Regions from separate parts of the Homo sapiens genome. Here region 1 is linked to region 2. The links are contacts of gene promoters, found by promoter capture Hi-C in human tissues and cell types (Jung and others, 2019). All regions are on one chromosome and are shown on one strand. The core of a region is centred on a gene start or on the middle of the fragment in contact, and the rest is flanking DNA. Distances in the headings are between cores, read along the strand shown.

Region 1 (3,722 bases), core at 204-2,703, 120 kb before region 2:
CATCCACCCACAACAGGAACTGTTCACACACCTCTGGGCCATCCTTGATGTGACTAAGGTGGGCAAGCACCATTTTATAGAAGAGTAAATGAAAGTCTAGAAGGATTAAAAACCTTGACCCAACTCACGAGGCTGGTAAGTGGGGCAGCAGTTTTGGCCTGGGGTTGCCCAACTTCTAAGCCTATGTTCATTCTCCAGGCCCCCTACCTCTGCGGCCCCGCAGGAGACAGTCATTACTGCTTTAACTGGACAGATGAATGGCAGCGCCAGGGCTGCCCAGAGGAAAGCGGGGAGGGGAAAGACCTGCCAAACCCTACCCCGCCGACAGAGCACGAGACGGGGGACAGGCCAGGAGTTTGCTTCTCTCCTTGGTCTACAACAAAAAAAAATTGGATTTAGCCAACAAAAAACACTGGCAGGAACTTTACAGTTTATAAAGCTTTTGCATAAGTCACCTCTGGTTCTTCCCAACCATCTTACGACGCTTTATTACTGTGATTTCAGAGAAGAAACAGGCTTACAGAGGTTAAGGGCTTGAGACCACTCAACTGGTTTTAAGTGGAATCCAGACCAGAGGTGCCGGCTCCACGTCTACTGCCCTTTCCACGGTGCCATGCTGCCTCCCACAAAACATCCACAGTGCCCTTGGCCAATGAGGGGCCGCCATCGGAGGTCACAGGAAGCCTTTTCACAGTCCCTCTGGGGCATGAGTGGGGAGCAGCTCTTCTCCCCAGAGCTTTAAAGCCCCATCGAGGAAGGGGTGAGAACTGACCTCCTGAAGTGCCCGAGTGTGTGTGTACGGGGAGAGTGGACTCAATTTTTATTTTTGAAACCTCATGCACAGAGTTCCTTATATTCCCCAGGTCCCACAAGAGTACCAGGTGCCATTTCAGAACCACCTTTCTAAACCTCTGCCCACCCACTGAAAGCAACACGGCCCTTCACAGCCTGGCTTCCTTCTTTTGACACACAGCCCTTCCGCTCCAGTGGAGAATCGCCAAAGATCATGAAGGGTAAATAGTCTCCTCTGAACCCCTGGTCTGGGAAACCCGTTTCAACCCCGGGGGGAGCCCAGTGGCCACTGGTGCTGCCCAGGGGCTGCTGTGGGGCAGAGATAACACACAGAGGAAGGGTGGGGTGGCAGGAGCCCTCCCAGGAGCAGGGCTTGCCTGTAAACAATGAGCTGCCGCCTCGCCAAGGCAGGAGGTGATTCATCTCCCCCGCTGCTCAGCTCCTGCTGGCTGCGCTCACCGGGCACCAAAGGACTGGGGCAGCCCTGGCCAGGCGCTGACGCCTCCCCACTCTCTGCACAGGTCAGGATCTCACCCCAGCCCTTCTGGAAACTGGCTTGACTTCAAAAGCCTTCCTGGGTGTGTCCAAAAAGTGATCTGGTCTGGGGAGTGCTCAAGTGCACTCAAGGGAGCACAGCTCCACCATCACCCGAGAACTGGCTGGGTTTTGGGATCAAGGCGGCAGATGGGGCATACGTGGGGCTCGGGGACTCCCGCCTGTCCATGCCCAGAGGCATACACGGATAACAACGGTGACTTCTTGGGTCACCCCTCTGAACAGCGTCCCAGGCCTCCATCACCCTGTTGTCAACCCTGAGGCAATAGTCCCAACCAAGACTATTGAGTCTTGGGGGACATGTGAGCTGAAGCATTTGCCTGCAAACAGAATGCAGGAGAGGCCAGTGCATCTGAGATGCCAAGAGGTAAGAATACGGCACTTTTAATAGGCGGCAGACCCCAGGTGGTGCGTGGACAGACCCTGTCCACAGCGCCTGGCTCCCGTGCTGCCTGTCCTTCCATCTGGAATGCCAAACAGAAGCTCCTCTCAGGTGGCATCTGGGGAGTAGGTCCCAGTCCTGAAATATACAAAGTGGCGCCTCCCACTGGGCAGTGGTCACTGGGCTGCACGGTCCTTTCAAGTCCTAGGGTGGCCCCTCAGGTCACTGCTTGGCCTTCTTCACAATGGTGCCCACAGCAGAGATGACGGTGGTCTTGGAGCCGCTGGCGCTGGTGGTGACCGTGACAACAGCTGGCAGGGTGGCTGTGGTGGTGAGGATGGTGGGCTGGGCTATCGTTGTCACTGGGATAGCCGAATCCCACTTGCTCTTTCTCTTCTGAGCATCTGGAGATAAAGCAGAAATCAGGATCACGATCCACCAATGAGCGGTGCCCTCTTTCCCTTCCCCCTGCAGGCCAGCGGGAGTCTAGGGAGCAGACCCCGAAGTGGCCCACCCCAGACTCCAAAGGTGCTTCTCAAAGTAGCAAGGCTGAGCCCAGGCCCAGATCCACGTGCTGTCTGTCGCCCAAACAAGCCAGGGAGACCCTGGCTCCATGTGTGTGGCAGGAGGCAGGGCAGCTCTGCAATCTACCTGCAACAGCTGTGCTGGCAGTGGTAGTGGTGGTGGACGTGGCGTTGGTCGTGGTGCCTTTTTTGGTGCCCGTCACAAACTCAATCTGGAGAGGGAGAGGGAAGAGAATAAGACCAGGCAAAGCTGGGTGTCCACAGCTTTTTGCCATCCGTCAGCTCCTGGGGGACAGGAGCTTGGCACTACACAAAAGAGGCATTGGAAATGAACTCTGCTCTGCCCATCTGGGGTAGGGCGAGATGTCTAAGAAGAACCCAAAGGGGCTTTTCACTCTTAAAAGAACTTTCCAAACAGTACTGTATCCCTCCCGGCATCACCAGGTCTCTGCACATGCCCGGCACCCCCCGCCCACCGCCCCACCTCACATGCCCAGAACCGTTTGGCCAGGCCCCTCCTCCTCACACCCAGGAGGAGGCGGTGCCCGCCCGCACAGGGGAAGGACAGCTCCGGTCCCCAGGCGCTGCAGACACGTCCCTGCAACAAGCCTGGGGTTTGGAAGGGAGAGGGAAAGAGAGAGAAGGGAGATTCAATCAAGGGTTAAGAATGAGAAACCCCAACTATCCCCTTGCACCAGCTCCCACGTTCCTGGCCCAGCAGCCAGCACCTCCAGAGGGCCACCAGCATGCCCAGGCCCCACAGCCCCTCTGCTTGGGGTGAGGGAAGCGGTCTGGAGGCCGCAGCTGCTTGAGGATGGTCAGGCCGAGCCAGAAGTGGGAGGAGCTGGTGTCCTGATGCCCGGCTCTGAGACTGGTCACAAAGGGAACAAGGCCCAGAGATAACAGTTTGGTCTCCCAGCCAAACTGATGCTCCCTGAAGAACCCAGACCACACTGCCAGGGAACAAGTGGTGCTCAGGGCCCTAACGTGGGACCTAATAGGTAGCACCCAGGCGAGCCACTGAGGGCAGCTCTGGAGGCCAAGACACTCACCGAGCAGCGCAAGCTGGGCCTGGCACTCTCTTAGGGAACTATTTCCCTCCCTTCAGGCTACAAAGGGCCCCCATGACCCAAAACGGACAAAGCCCCCCAAGGCTCTGCAATTGGCGGGGAGGAAAGGGGGGCACAATGTAGCAAACAAGTCTCCGAGGGCAAAAGCAGCAGACGAGCGCCGTGAACCCAGCAGGTCTGCTCAGCACACAGGCCCTGCTGAGAGGCTCAGAGCATCGCCGGGTGATGACACGGGGCCAGGGTTGGGGGCAGCCTGGACACCTTCTGGGCTCAGCCAGCAGGACCCATGCACTCCACATGTGCCTTTTTCATCTAGGAGGTCTGCCATCACTTACTTTTGTTCGCTCCTTTTTGGCCTTTTCCAATTTGTCCATCTCAATTTTCTGGGCCTTGGCTATG
Region 2 (2,500 bases), core at 1-2,500:
GGGTCCTCCGGCCCCGCTCCTGCTGCGGCTCCCGCTTCGCCCTCGCCTGCCGCCGCTGGCACCTGCCCCACCGCCTTTCCGACCTGGTGGCGCGGAGCCCGGGCCGTCGAGGCCTGCATTGTTTCTGGCTCGGCGCCCCGCTGCGCCCGGTTGTCGCTCGCGTCCTTGGCCGGCCCAGTGTCCCGAGGAGCCCGCGAGCTGTCCTCGAAGGTCCTGGAGGCCATAGCTGCCCGAGAGCCCCGTCCAGGTCCGGTCCCCAGCGGACTCGAGTCGGAGTCCCCGCCGGAATGCTCGCTGGCTCCCAGGGGCCCCGTCCCCGACGACCCTTCCCGGCCCCGGGTATCTGCGTGGGGCCAGTCGCTGTCCAGGCCGTCGCTGCTTGGCTCCAGCGCTGACTCCGGCCCGGTTTTTGTCCCTTCCGAGCCCATGTCCGTAGGCTCCGGCGTGGGCCGCAGCTCCCGGGCTGTGCCGCGCTGGCTGCCGCTCTCCTGGGCCTCGCGGGTTTCGCTGTCCGGACAGGAGCTGCCTCCGTCCCCACCCGACGTGTCCCCATTGAGGCTCCTGGGCGTCCGGCGGCCCCGCCGAGCCGAGGGCCCCTTATCTTTCCGCTTCCTCCTACGGCGGCCGCCCAGCTCTTCTCCTCCGGAGAGGCTTCCCTCCTCCAGGCGCCCCCCGCGGCCGCCCCTGGGCCCGCGTCCCTGACGCTGCGCGTTGCTTTGCCTCTCCTGGGCTTTCGGGGACAGCCCAGCCCCTGGGCGTCTGCAGCCGCCGTTCCCCTCTGCAGTGGGCTTCCTGCGGCCACCAGGGGTTCCCTGGCCCCCGGCGGTGGCAGGCTCGGCCGCCGGTTTCGCCCTGTCCGCCTGCCCGCGGTCGGAACGGCGTTCCCGGCTGGGCGCGCCATCCGCGCTGGCCGACCCCGACTCCTGCTCCCCTGAGGCCGGCCTCCCGGGCCTCTCCAGGCGCTGGGGCGCTTTGCGCTGGTTCCTGCCCATGGCTGGCCCAAAGGAGACGGGCTTCCCGACGCCCAGGTCCTTTCCCCTCCCCGGGGATTTGGCCTCCCGCGGTGACCTTCTGTGCAGTGCACCACCCGGCTCTGCTCTCGCAGGGGCTACAGGCTCTACTCCCCGAGGTGCCCGCCTTACAGGACCATCAATAATGCAGAAGGCGGCGGGTCCTGACCCCCTCGGCCAACAATGGAATAGAGGCGCCCAGGAAACAGGAGACGCTACAGCTGCGGACAGGGCAACAGTGCCGCCGGGAGGCGCTGCCAGCCAGGCCAGCCTCGCACCGCGCCAGACTGAGGGGGTCCATGCTCCACTCCCACCTCAGTGCTTGCCCAGCAAGGAAGGGCCCAGAGAACCTGTCTGGACTTCTTCCTTCTGAGGGTTCCAAGGGACTGGGGCCAGGCCCACCCTGGCACACGGCAGCACTCCATGAGTCGCTAGGGTTTTTGTTCTTTTCAATTGTGGAATAAATACAATTTACCGAAAAGTACATAAAACATAAATGTACATCTTGAACTGGTGTAAAACATGCCTGTCTACCTCCTTGGAGTTGTGGAACAGAACCACACCCCATACATTCCTGATTGCCCCAATGTGTGTGTTTTTAAAATATCTATTTTTAAAACAGGTAATACATTCACATAATTCAAACATCCAAACATTACAAGATAAAAGTCTCCCATTCCTGACCCTCAGCCTATGTACTCAGTGTTCCCCTGAGGTTACCCATTTCTGTATTTCCTTGCAAAATTTTCCAGGTTGGCCGGGCGCGGTGGCTCACGCCTGTAATCCCAGCACTCTGGGAGGCCAAGGAGGGCGGATCACGAGGTCAGGAGATGGAGACCATCCTGGCTAACATGGTGAAACCCCCGTCTCTACTAAAAAATACGATAAATTAGCCGGTCGTGGTGGGGGGCGCCTGTAGTCCCAGCTACTCGGGAGGCTGAGGCAAGAGAATGGCATGAACCCAGGAGGCAGGAGAGAATGGCATGAACCCAGGAGGCAGAGCTTGCAGTGAGCTGAGATCACACCACTGCACTCCAGCCTGGGTGACAGCATTTTGTTTGTCTCAAAAACAAAGAAACAACAACAAAAACTTTCCATGCAGAGAAAAGCAAATATTATATTTTTCCCCTTTAGCACAAGTGGTAGCTTATGTAGCTCCGGGGTCTCCACTTTGCCTTTTTCACTTAACAATGTAATCTGGTGATTTCATAATAATACCATAAAAAGCCAGCCTGCCTTCCTCCCTTCTCTCCTCCCTCTCTTCCTTGCAAATAAATGCACCATGGTTGAACCAATTCCTTATTGATGGGTTTCTACATCCAAAGTGGATCCTGGCCAAGTGAGGTGGCTCATGCCTGTAATCCCAGCATTTTGGGAGGCCGAAGTGGGTGGATCACCTGATGTCAGGAGTTCGAGATCTGCCTGGCCAACATGGTGAAACCCCATCTCTACTAAAAATACAAAAATTACCTAGGTGTGGTGGCACATGC

What was found. The method cuts DNA at HindIII sites, captures the fragments that hold promoters and counts their contacts. A contact is called where the count stands out against the background at its distance.
Region 1: a contact is called between a fragment that was not itself captured here and the fragment with the promoter of MYO15B in region 2, in 3 of the 25 tissues and cell types used here (IMR-90 fibroblasts, small bowel and spleen).

What each region holds. Positions count from the first base shown.
Region 1 is chr17:75,704,751-75,708,472 of GRCh38, reverse strand. SAP30BP (SAP30 binding protein) reads right to left here. Exons shown (of 11, transcript NM_013260.8): 9 at 3,659-3,717; 10 at 2,381-2,465; 11 at 414-2,133. The coding sequence ends at 1,952. Among named protein-coding and RNA genes, the nearest start is that of ITGB4, 15 kb to the left of the region's middle. RefSeq lists an enhancer at 883-2,082. The HindIII fragment of the contact is 8,365 bases long and covers 1-3,722 here.
Region 2 is chr17:75,586,550-75,589,049 of GRCh38, reverse strand. MYO15B (myosin XVB) reads right to left here and starts at 1,250. Exons shown (of 64, transcript NM_001395058.1): 1 at 1-1,250. The coding sequence starts at 992. RefSeq lists a silencer at 19-148 and enhancers at 1-600, 1,029-1,098, 601-1,434. The HindIII fragment of the contact is 22,601 bases long and covers 1-2,500 here.